Regions from separate parts of the Homo sapiens genome. Here region 1 is linked to region 2. The links are contacts of gene promoters, found by promoter capture Hi-C in blood cells and fetal thymus (Javierre and others, 2016). All regions are on one chromosome and are shown on one strand. The core of a region is centred on a gene start or on the middle of the fragment in contact, and the rest is flanking DNA. Distances in the headings are between cores, read along the strand shown.

Region 1 (6,246 bases), core at 1,578-4,077, 91 kb after region 2:
GGGAGAACACTGAAACCATCTCAAAAAGAAGACACAGTACACAGTGTTTCAAAATGTGGATATTGTTTACTTGAAGCAACAGTCCAGGATTGTGAAGTACAACACATTTTAAGGATGAGACTTTCCTTTCATGGTCAAGCACCAGCATCATGCACACAGCATCAGGTTATTTAAAACAACACGCCTGTGGGACCCCGTTCCTGGAGGAAGACCCGCTTCAGTGTGATTGCCTCCCTTGCTTCACTGCTTTTAGTTCCAGGCAGTTTCATTGTACATCCAAGCCTTCCTCTGCGTGAGAGCAAAGGCTTTGCTCATCAGCCAGCCAGTCTTGTTACTATCTGGCTACTTTTTAAGGTTAAAAAATAAAAGGCAGTTTCTTTGCTTTGCAGGCGGCAAGGCAGGAGGCGCAGGCCTCTTCATTGTTCACATGTCACAGGAGGAGGCTCTGAGCAAAGGCCACTGGCAAGTTAGGGCAACACCAAGAAGGCTCTGCGGAGAGACTCCCTGTGGGTTGGGGCCTGGCAGGAACGGTGCCTGTGGACTGTTTATGGTCTGTCCAGTTGAGGCTTGGTAAACCCAAGTAAAGTGTTAAAAACCTCAGTACAAAAGATCCTCTAACACATCTGGAACCAAATTATTTCTTCTTAAAAACACAGTACTAAGTGTCACAAAGCTTTCCCTCCAATCTACTACTAGAAAACACTCATGCCATGGCCCACAGACCCAAGAGTCAAGGACAGAGAGAAACCTGTTCTTCAAAAGAAAAAAAAAAAAGACAGCAGTACATAAAGTGCTTCTTTTTAATGAAACAAATCCAAGAGATGTACAGTCAGGCTCAAGTTGTGCAGTTCACAAGCATGGAGGAAACAGACAGAACGACAGCGTTCAGGACAGTCAGAGCTAACCCAAGACGAGGCTGGACTTGCCGCCAGGGGGATTTCTTCTGGATGGCACTGGGGCCGGGGCCACCGGGCTGGGCACAGGCGCAGCAGGCACGGGCTTCTCTTCACTCTGCCCCAGGCTGCCTGGCAAGTCTGTGTCCACATTTTCTATGAAAACAGGGAATAGAAATAATACTCATAATGACAGCCATTTCCTGTTAAGATCAAGGATCTGTTTCTCTTTTTCTTTTTTTTTTGGTTTGATGGTTGGAAACATACCTAAAAGCATAAACAAAATAATCACCCACCATGCTCCCACTCCACAGAATTAACCATTGTTCATCTTTTCCCATATTTGTTGTTTATGTTCTTTTCTAAATTACACAAATATATAAGGACATGAAGTTTTTTTTTGTTTTGTTTTGTTTTTTGACGGAGTCTCGCTGTTGCCCAGGCTGGAGTGCAATGGTGCAGTCTTGGCTCACTGCAACCTCCACTTCCCAGGTTCAAGCAATTCTCCTGCCTCAGCCTCTCTAGTAGCTGGGATTACAGGCGCCTGCCGCCATGCCCGGCTAATTCTTGTATTTTTAGTACAGATGGGGTTTCACCATCCTGGCCAAGCTGGTCTTGAATTCATGACCTTGTGATCCACCTGCCTCGGCCTCCCAAAGTGCTGGGATTACAGGCGTGAGCCACCGCGCCTGGCCCAAGGACATGAAGATTTTTAAATAAGAACAGGGAACTCTAGCTCTACGGCCCCTTCCAGCTCCGGGTGGATCCTGCTCCCCCTATTCCCAGAGGTCCCACTGCAAGTCCTGTGCAGCCTTCTAGTCCACTTGTTTTATGTATATTTACATGTAGCCAGATAACATGTAACATGTTTTGGTTATATTTAACATAAATGGTATCAACTTCTTTTTTTCACTCTTGGAAATGTATCCATATTTACAAACAGGGTAGTAATTCGCCTTGCTTATTAACTGTATGTTTTCAAATCCCTCACCTCACTGTCAAGCTTCATTGCTTTATAGTAATTATCACATGATATAGGCTATTTATCCAATTCTCTGACAGCAAAAAAACTGGAACCCATCCAATTTTCCAAATGAATTGTCTCTCATTAGGGTTGTTTCTAAACCGGGAAAAAACTGATTCAAAGTGCAAAGTGAATGCAAAAATTCTATATTTTCTATGAAAGGAAACTTTTACTAAGAGCTTAATAGTATACATATTTTTAGTTTTTTTGTTTGTTTGTTTTTTGTGGAGGGGTGGGGTGGCAGGTGGAGGATATTGAGACAGGGTCTCACTCTGTGGCCCAGGCTGGAGTGCAGTACCTCAATCACAGCCCACTGTAGCCTCAAACTCCTGGGCTCAAGCAATCCTCCTATATCAGTCTCCCAAATAGCTGGGACTACAGGCGCGCACCACCACAACTGGCTATTTTTGTTTTTTTTTTTTTTTTATTTTTAAAAGATGGGGTCTCCTTATGTTACCCAGGCTGGTCTCAAATTCCTGGACTCAAGTGATCCTCCCATCTCACCCTCCCTAAGTGCTGGGATCACAGGCATGAGCCACCTTCACCCTTCACACAGCCTAGTTTTCCTTTTTTTTTTTTTTTTTTTTTTTTTTTGAGACAGGGTCTTTAACCTCTGCCTCCTGGGTTCAAGCAATTCTCCTGCCTCAGCCTCCCGAGTAGCTGGAATTACAGGCATGCACCACCATGCCTGATTAATTTTTGTATTTTTAGTAGAGACGGGGTTTCGCCATGTTGGCCAGGCTGGTCTCAAACTCCTGGCCTCAAGTGAGCCACCTACCTTGGCCTCCCAAAGTGCTGGGATTACAGGCATTAAGCCACTGCACCCGGCCTAGTTTTCCTTTTTTTTCTTTAGTTGAGATGGAGTTTCACACATGTTGTCCAGGCTAGAGTGCAACAGTGCAATTTCGGCTCACTGCAACCTGTGCCTCCCGGGTTCAAGCAATTCTCCTGCCTCAGCATCCCAAGTAAGTAGCTGGGATTATAGGTGCCCGCTACAACGCCCGACTAATTTTTTGTATTTTTAGTAGAGACAGGGTTTCACCATGTTGGCCTGGCTGGTCTTAAACTCCTGACCTCAGGTGATCCAACCTGCCTTGGCCTCCCAAGGTGCTGGGATTACAGGCGTGAGCCTCCATACTGGGCCTTAGTTTTCTTTTTAATAGCAAGTTTATTTCAGTGTTAACCAATCAAATTCAGTTGCATATTCTAAGATATTCGTAAAAATATTTCATAGAATCCCTTTTGCCTGAAAAGGCAGTAAGGGCAGTTAATAATGCTCCTATATTAATGGATTTTTTTTTTTTTTTTGAGACTGTGTCTCATTCCATCGCCCAGACTGGAGTAAAGTAGCGTGATCCTGGCCCACCACAACCTCCGCCTCCCAGGCTCAAGCGATTCTCCTGCCTCAGCCTCCCAATAGCTGGGGTTATAGGCGCCCGCCACCATGCCCAGCTAATTTTTTGTATTTTTGTAGAGACCAGGTTTCACCATGTTGGCCAGGCTTGTCTCAACCTCCTGACCGCAAGTGATCCACCCACCTCAGCTGCCCAAAGTACTCAGATTACAGGCGTGAGCCACCATGCCCGGCCAAGAAGAGGTCTTTAACACTTACTCTCAATTCATGTACTTATCTCATGATAGGCTAGAAGCAAACAAACCTCCCTCTTCTGTGGCTGCAGTATTTCTCATTGGACAGACATTTATTTTATTTATTTATTTTTCATGCTTTGTTAATGTTAACATACTACTGCTGCTTTTAACATTTCATGAATTTCTGGAACATTCTATGGGAGTAACATAAAATGTTCTATACTATTTAACTACAAGCAAAAATAGAGTATGAAGCTTTTCAGAATGACAACTGTCACAATTATGAACTAAAACTCAGAGAGGGTCACCCATTAGTTTCCTTGGTTACATCCATTGTAAAAGAAGCAAGATCAAATGCACTGGATCAGACACACAAGTCCTACAATAAGTGTCCCTGAAATAACCTAAATATAATTGTAAATATAAAAGAAAAACAAAACTCCACATTTAAAATATTCAAGATAAAGAGAATTCGGACTGAGACAACTTGTTAGTTCAAGCAGTTTCATTTCTGCTGGTGGGACATGGCCTCCTGCTATACATACAGGATCTACTGAAGTCTTCATTCTCTCTCTGAATCCAGCAGTTAATGAACATTCTGAAGAACAAAAAATTATCTTGCAGTCCTGCCATAGTGGTTTATTTTCATAAAATCCTCTTCAGATGAATCAAGCTCAATACTACTAATCTTATATTTGTCTTACATTATTACTAGAACTGTTTTGTTTTTCACAAATACATAACATACTAATAAAGAAGAAGAAAAAAATAAAAAAGCACCTATGGAGACTAAACAAGCAGCAGTAGGCCTTACTTTAAATGTCTGTCCAGGCCAGGTGCAGTGGCTCACACCTGTAATCCCAGCACTTTGGGAGGCCAAGGCAGCTGAATAACCTGAGGTCAGGAGTTTGAGACCAGCTTGGCCAACATGGTGAAACCCCGTGTCTACAAAAGTACAAAAATTAGCTGGGCGTGTGTGCGCGCCTGTATTCACAGATACTCGGGAGGCTGAGGCAAGAGAATCACTTGAACCCGGGAGGCGGAGTTTGAAGTGAGCCAAGATCGTGCCACAGCACTCCAGCCTGGGCGACAGAGTAAGACTCCGTCTCAAAAATAAATAAATGTCTGTCCAGTCAGAAGTACTCCACCCACAGAGGAGGGAGGTTTGTTTGTTTCCAGCCCATAATGAGATAAGTACAGGAATTGAGAGTAAGTGTTCAGAAACTTTGATTTATTTTTTCAGATGGAGTCTCTCTCTCTTGCCAGGCTGGAGTGCAGTGGCGCAATCTATCTCCACCTCCCAGGTTCAAGCGATTCTCCTGCCTCAGCCTCCCAAGTAGCTGGGATTACAGGCGCGTGCCACCACGCCTGGCTAATTTTTGTATTTTTAGTAGAGACGGGCTTTCACCATGTTGGCCAGGATGGTCTTGATCTCTTGACCTCATGATCCGCACACCTCAGCCTCCCGAAGGGCTGGGATTACAGGCATGAGCCACCGCGCCCAGCCAAATGTTTAGAAACTTTTATGCCAATTTGACACAGAAAGCTTTTGTCTGCTGAAGATAATTTAAAAAAAAAAAGGGCTTTAAATGAAATTATTTCTACCAAAATATACATTTTAGACACTCCTGGTCTCTTTTCTTTGGCACATCAATAAGATAACTGAACAAAGACATCTCTATCTGAATAGAAAATGATTCATTGTAAGCATCAAAGAATCAGAACTGGAAGAAATGTAGCCGACCATCTAACTTGCCCGCAGTCAGGGAGACTTCTCTGCCTGAACTTCCTGGACCTTCTCCCTCTTAGATTTCTCAAGATGGAAACTCCAAAGTCATTCCTGTAGCCATTCCTGCGTTTAATTGCCCAAGAGGTAAAATAAATTTCCCGTATATCCAAAGGGAATCTATCTTATTTAAACTGAATTGGGGTTGACCTTTAATCCTCCAGATGTATCTTATTACTGTACCTCAGCCAGGCACAGCGGCTCACACCTGTAATCCCAGAATTTTGGGAGGCCAAGGCAGGAAGATCAACATGAACCCAGGACCAGCCGGGGGAAACATAGCAAAACCCTGTCTCTACAGAAACTACAAAAATTGGCCAAGCACGGTGGCTCACGCCTGTAATCCCGACACTTTGGGAGGCCAAGGCAGGTGGATCACGAGGTAAGGAGTTCGAGACCGGCCTGGGCAAGATGGTGAAATCCTGTCTCTACTGAAAACACAAAAATTAGCTGGACACAGTGGCGGGCACCTGTAATCCCAGCTACTCGGGAGGCTGAGGCAGGAGAATTGCTTGAATCAAAGAGGTGGAGGCTGCAGTGAGCCAAGATCATGCCACTGCATTTCTAGCCTGGGCAACAGAGCAAGACTCCATCTCAAAAACAAAACAAAAACAAAACCACAAAAATTAGCCAGGCATGGTGGCATGCAACTGTAGTCCCAACTACTCAGGAAGCTGAGGTGAGAGGATGGCTTGAACCCGGAAGTCAAGGCTGCAGTGAGTGGTGATTGTGCCACTGCACTCGTGGTTCAGGCAACAGTGAGAACCTGTCTCAGTAAAGAAAAAAATATTATTGTGCCCCTTTTCATTTTAAGACAGATGAACTAAAGTTGCAGCAGTCAGCCACACAGAATATATCAGATCAGAAACTTAAAAAGGCCGGGCACAATAGCTTACACCTGTAATCCCAGCACTTTGGGAGGCCAAGGCAGGGGGATCACCTGAGGTCAGGAG
Region 2 (6,205 bases), core at 1,244-3,743:
AAAATAGTCCTCTTTAAGTAAGATCAGGGTCAGATATTAAAAGACTGCAAAGTCAAAAATCTCTATAAGCTTGGAGTGGAATGCAAGGGAGGCGGAAGCAGTCTTTCTCAGGATCTTCAAGAAAGTTGTCAAACACCTGTCCTGTCCTTCCTTTCTTTCTCAGGACAGCCTGTTTCCTGTTGTGGAGGGGAGGTGTTAAGGCAATTGGCATGTGATTTTAAAGTTACCAGGGAACCAAGCACCCTTACAGACTTTCCCAAACATCAGTGTATCGGGGAACTTGCCCCGATAGTCACATAGGTTCTTTTCTATTTTCCTAAGCGTCGACTGGCTTGACAGAGTACAAAAGAGAGAAATTTTAAAGCTGGGCGTCCGGGGGAGACATCACACGTTGGTAGGATCCGTGATGCCCCACAAGCCACAAAAACCAGCAAGTTTTTATTAGGGAGTTTCAAAAGGGGAGGGAGTATACGAATAGGTGTGGGTGACAGACATCAAGTACTTAACAGGGTAATAGAATATCACAAGGCAAGTGGAGGCAGGGTGAGATCACAAGACCACAGGACCAGAGCGAAATTAAAATTGCTAATGAAGTTTTGGGCACCATTGTCATTGATAACATCTTATCAGGAGACAGGGTTTTCAGATCAACCGGTCTGACCAAAATTTATTAGGTGGGAATTTCCTTTTCCTAATAAGCCTGGGATCGCTATGGGAGACTGGAGTTTATTTCACCCCTGCAGTCTCAACCATAAGAGACAGGTACGCCCCAGGGGGGCCAGTTCAGAGACCTACCCCTAGGTGCGCATTCTCTTTCTCAGGGATATCCCATGCTGAGAAAAAGAATTCAGCGATATTTCTCCCATTTGCTTTTGAAGGAAGAGAAATATGGCTCTGTTCTGCCCGGCTCACCGGCGGTCAGAGTTTAAGGTTCTCTCTTGTTCCCTGAACAATTGCTGTTATCCTGTTCTTTTTTCAGGGTGCCCACATTTCATATTGCTCAAACACACATGCTGTACAATTTTTGTAGTTAACACAATTATTACAGGGTCCTGGAACGATATACATCCTCAACTGACAGGATTAAGAGATTAAAGACAAGACAGGCATAGGAAATCAGAAGAGTATTGACTGGGGAAGTGATAAGTGTCCATGAAATCTCTACAATTTATGTTTAGAGATTGCAGTAAAGACAGGCATAAGAAATTACAAAAGTATTAATTTGGGGAACTAATAAATGTCCATAAAATCTTCACAATCCACGTTCTTCTGCCATGGTTTCAGCCGGTCTCTCTGTTTGGGGTCCCTGATTTCCCGCAACATCAGTGGAAAATGGAAGTCACAAATAACTTTGTGTGTGTGTGTGAGTGAGACGGAGTCTCGCACTGTCGCCTGGGCTGGAGTGTAGTGGCGTGGTCTCGGCTCACTGCAACCTCCGCCTCCCGGGTTCAAGCGATTCTCCTGCCTCAGCCTCCCGAGCAGCTGGGATTATAGGGGCCTTCCACCACGCCCAGCTAATTTTTTGTATTTTTAGTAGAGGCGGGGTTTCACTACGTTGGCCAGGCTGGTCTCGAACTCCTGACCTCGCGATTCGCCCGCCTTGGCCTCCTAAAATTCTGGGATTACAGGCGTGAGCCACCGCGCCCGGCGAAATTTTTTTTAATTCTTAAAAATCTATTGCTTAATCCCCAGCGCCTAGAACAGATCATGCGCATAGGAGGTGCTCAATGAATCTTTCTTGAATGAGTAACCGAACTCTGCACCCGAGGAGCCCTGAACGCTCTATACGTTCGAATCCTGGAAGCTGCCGAAGGGGAAGGGCGCAGCCCCGCAGCCAGCTGAGCGTCCCTCGGCAGGTTAACACTGTCTGCGTAATGTTTCCCCAGTCCCCCCACCAAACTATTGAAGTCTGCCGCGCTGGGAGCGGACTGCACGAGACACGGCTTGTGGCAGCGCCTACATCAGCGGCGCCTGGGACACAGCCGGGCCCCCCTGACCCCGCGCGCCAAGGAGGGCTGAGGAAGGGATCGCGGGGCGAGGAGCGGCAGCTACACAAGGGACACTCTGCCAGCGGGGCAAGCCGAGGGCCCAGCGTCCTTGACGGGGGCGTGACAAGGGTCGGCGTGAGGTTTGGAGAGGGCAGAGCAGAGGAGCCCTCCAGGGATCGGATCCAATGCCCCAAGCCCCACTCACCTTCACCGACCCTGGCTGCCCACGGTCCTCCGCAGCAAGTAACGGAAGTGGGTCACGGGAAGATCTTTCCTCAGCCAACCCCAAAGCCAAGGGGGTGGGCCTTGCTTCGCAGATCAGCCAATAGAGATGAGGGCTGGTTCCGGAAGTATCTTCCCGGGGGCGGGCACAGCGCCTCCCCCGCGCGGGTCCCCGGGCGCTGGTTGGGGGCGCTCCCGTCCCTCTCCCCTCTGCCCCACCCCCGCCGATGGGCCGGCCCGGCTCTCCCTGCCGAGAAATGGGCCGGCCCGGCTGCGCGCGGGCAGCAGCGGTGGCGGCGGCGGTCCAAGATGGCGGAACTGCAGCTGGACCCGGCGATGGCGGGGCTGGGAGGGGGCGGCGGGAGTGGGGTGGGCGACGGGGGTGGCCCAGTCCGCGGGCCCCCCAGCCCACGCCCGGCTGGCCCCACGCCCCGCGGGCACGGCCGCCCGGCTGCCGCCGTCGCGCAGCCGCTGGAGCCGGGTCCCGGACCACCCGAGCGGGCAGGGGGCGGCGGCGCGGCCCGCTGGGTCAGGCTGAACGTGGGAGGCACCTACTTCGTGACCACCAGACAGACCTTAGGCCGGGAGCCCAAGTCATTTCTCTGCCGCCTCTGCTGCCAGGAGGACCCGGAGCTGGACTCAGACAAGGTGTGCCCCGCCCTCGGGCGCGCCCCCGGGCCTTCGAACCCCCTGGTTTCTCGTAGATCGGTCCCCAGAGTCCTGAGACACGCTCCTCACAGGCAGCCCCCTCAGGCCGGGACCCCATCCTCCCCCTCCCTCCCACACTACTCGCAGGGGCCTCAGAGGGACCTCCCACTCCCCTTCTTCCATGCTGAGGCATACTCTGGCTTTCTCCCCGACCCCGCCCTTCGTTCTCTGAGACTCCTTCCCACACTGCGCCCACCTGCACCCACGAGAACGCACTCCACACCCCTTCTCCATATTCTCTGCCCCTGACATCCCACTGAGATCTGCATGAGTTTTCCCTGGCTCCTCTTCAGTCCCCCCACTGCCGGTGCCAGATGCATCCAGAACTGGGTCAGGGTTAGCTCAGGCATCCTTGTAGCTTTCTCAGACTCCCTCTCGGACCCCTCTGCCAAGTTGGGCTTCCACAGCTGCAGGAAGCGCTCCTTGTGATATCACACTGCTTTTCTATAGTCCTGGTCGCAGAACTTTTATCTGTTAACAGTCACTGGTTTAGGTCCATATTTAGATCAAATGCGTTTTTTGGAAAGAGGTTACTGTTTGCCGCTGCAAATCTAGGCTAAGACAGAAGGAAAATGAAAATTTTCCCGGGAAAATTTTGGGCAGGATGCATGGCTGCTAACCAAAGGGTTGAGAGGTGACAAGACACTTAAACCATTTCCAGTTTGAACTGTGTCAATTTCTTTTTAACTTTACGTATTCACCTTTAAGTTCTCAACTTAAAGGCACTGACCATAACTCACACCATCTTATATCCCATATAGCACTCAGCTGGTGACCTCAAAACAGAGCTGGAGTTGCGTAAACATTTGTTGTTTTCGTTTATTCCTCTTCTCTAAGAAATCTCAGATTGATGGAAACCTATCCTGCCCTAACTTTAAAGAGATTTCAAAACCCTTGCTTATAAAGGAATTATTTTTATCTACTCTATATCCTCCTTGTGGTAATAGAAGCCAGTTTCTTCTTGTTCCTTTTACTGTAAAGATGAGTAGGATTAAAGCTGCTCAGAGCCAAGTCCTGGCAGTACCGAGCTTCCTCTGGGCACAGAGCTGGGGTGTGTGAGATTACAGCTGGCAGTGCAAACTCCCACTGATGTTGGCCTTGAGCTCAGGAGCATTGCCAACTACACAGAGGTTTTCTTGGAATTAGGAATGCAGTTCAGAGGCAGTGGAAAAGTCAGAATGTCCATCTCAAGCAAAGATTTCAGTTACACAGCTACGGCATTTTCTCCCTTTCTTAATAACAAACACGCTACAGAAGAATGTTTGTCACTGTAATTATTGTCCAGGCAAAGATTGCAAATTCCAGCCAGTAAGTAAACGCCTAAATGAGTATGACTGTCTGTAACACCCTACCTAAGATGATCTTAATGTACAAGATACATAAAGCTATAGCTTTCTTACCAATAGTTTGTGACAAATGTGTAACAAAATTTGCCATCACTAAAGTCTTTTTTAGCTGATGGAATGAATTGTTGTCTTGGGGCGCTGACAAAGATGGTGAAATCCTGCCCTGCCTTTGTTTAAAATACTCCTCAAAGGTCCACAATGATACCCTTGTGTTTGGTTGGCAGGATGAGACAGGAGCCTATCTGATTGACAGGGACCCCACCTACTTTGGTCCTATCCTCAACTACCTCCGCCACGGGAAACTCATCATCACTAAGGAGTTGGCAGAAGAAGGTAAGCGCACTGTTTGCATTGGGGATTTTCAAAATGCAAGTAGAATCTTTAAAGTTGTTTTACAGATTTCAATTTTGTTTGACATTTTCATCAGGCGCATGTGCAGGTATAGTTTCAGGTTTATGAAACAGAGCAGAAACTACCAGTCTTGTCTGAGGGAGTCATGATTAAGGAAGCCTCCTTAGGCTTTGTTCAGCTTCCTGGGTGAGAAGGAAGATAGGTAGCTCCGCTTTGCAGATAACTTCAGGAGTTCTTTCCGAATCTCCAGAATTGTCACGATCCTTTTTTTACATTTGTTTGTGTGCTAGCAGTGAGTGTCTGTAGTCTGAAGAAGCAAGACATCTCTGACATTCAATTATTTATAGTTTTAATTTTGGTTTGAACTCACAGTTGTACAAAAATAATAAAGGCTTGGCCTCATTTCTTTTAAGACTCTGGCCTCATGCTTCCCTGTAAATGTTTGCAGCTGACCTAATTCATTCTCTAGTTCATTGTCAGGTGTATCATTACTTGCCTCATCTTTGTGGTTTGTAGGGCATTGGGACTATAAGTGGGTCTAGTCCACTTTCTACAAGGCTTGGCATGGTCCCACTGAAGGCATTCAGTTGTAAAGGGGACTGTCCCTAAATCCAGGGCACCCTGATCTGGGAGCTTTGGCTCTGAGTAAGAAAGCTTGTAATGGCTGTACTAGTTAATGAAGTGACTGTGAAACAACTCTGTTTCAGCTAGTAGAAAGAGGAATTGCTCTCTCTCTCTTTTTTTAAATGTCCCTTTTTAAACAATATTTCAAACGCATACAGAAGTAATGGGAATAGTACATACAGTGAATTCCTTGCATCCACTATCCAGCTTCAACAATTACCAACTCATGGGTGATCTTAATCTTATTTATTTTTCTTTTTTAATTTTTGTAAGTACCTAGTAGGTGTATATATTTATGGGGTACATGAGATTTTTCTTTTTTTTTTCTTCGCTCAGGCTGGAGTGCACTGGCACAATCTTGACTCACTGCAACCTCAGCCTCCTGGGTTCAAGCGATTCTCCTGCCTCAGCCTCCCAAGTAGCTGGGATTACAGGCGTGCACCACCATGCTTGACTAATTTTTTGTATTTTTAGTAGAGACAGGGTTTCACCATGTTGACCAGGCTGGTCTTGAACTCCTAACCTCAAGTGATCCACCTGCCTCAGCCTCCCAGAGTGCTGGGATTACAGGCCTGAGCCTCCGCGCCCGACCTGAGATGTTTGGATATAGGCATGCAGTGTGAAATAAGCACATCATGGAGAATGGGGTATCCATCCCCTCAAGCATTTATCCTTTGTGATACAAAAATTCAATTACCCTCTTTTAGTTAAGTATCTTTTCTAATGCCTTTAATTAAAAAAACTTTATTTTGAAGTAATTTAAAACTTCAAAATAAGCAAGAAAAGAGCAAGAATAACACAGAGAACTCCCTATATCCCAGATTAACCAATTTTCAATGTTATTTTTGTCATATTTGGGGTATGGGGAGATCTTTTTGTTGTTTTTTTAAGAGTCAGAGTCTATCTTATCTTGCCCAGGCTGGTCTCAAATGTCTGGCCTCACATGCTCCTCCTGCCTCAGCCTCC

Evidence for each region. Contacts are between HindIII fragments. The CHiCAGO score rates a contact against its expected background, and 5 or more counts as called.
Region 1: a fragment that was not itself captured here is called in contact with the fragment with the promoter of KCTD2 in region 2 in 11 of 17 cell types (erythroblasts, endothelial precursors, M1 macrophages and 8 more); the score reaches 10.0 in erythroblasts.

What each region holds. Positions count from the first base shown.
Region 1 is chr17:75,135,202-75,141,447 of GRCh38, forward strand. It overlaps JPT1 (Jupiter microtubule associated homolog 1), which reads right to left. Exons shown (of 5, transcript NM_016185.4): 5 at 47-1,049. The coding sequence ends at 901. It overlaps LOC107985034 (a long non-coding RNA gene), which reads left to right and starts at 1,049. Exons shown (of 2, transcript XR_007065907.1): 1 at 1,049-5,675. The HindIII fragment of the contact is 1,866 bases long and covers 1,895-3,760 here.
Region 2 is chr17:75,044,732-75,050,936 of GRCh38, forward strand. KCTD2 (potassium channel tetramerization domain containing 2) reads left to right here and starts at 2,494. Exons shown (of 6, transcript NM_015353.3): 1 at 2,494-2,858; 2 at 4,489-4,597. The coding sequence starts at 2,520. It overlaps ATP5PD (ATP synthase peripheral stalk subunit d), which reads right to left and starts at 2,238. Exons shown (of 6, transcript NM_006356.3): 1 at 2,194-2,238. RefSeq lists enhancers at 1,705-1,774, 1,713-2,298, 2,183-2,477 and a silencer at 2,175-2,604. The HindIII fragment of the contact is 5,200 bases long and covers 68-5,267 here.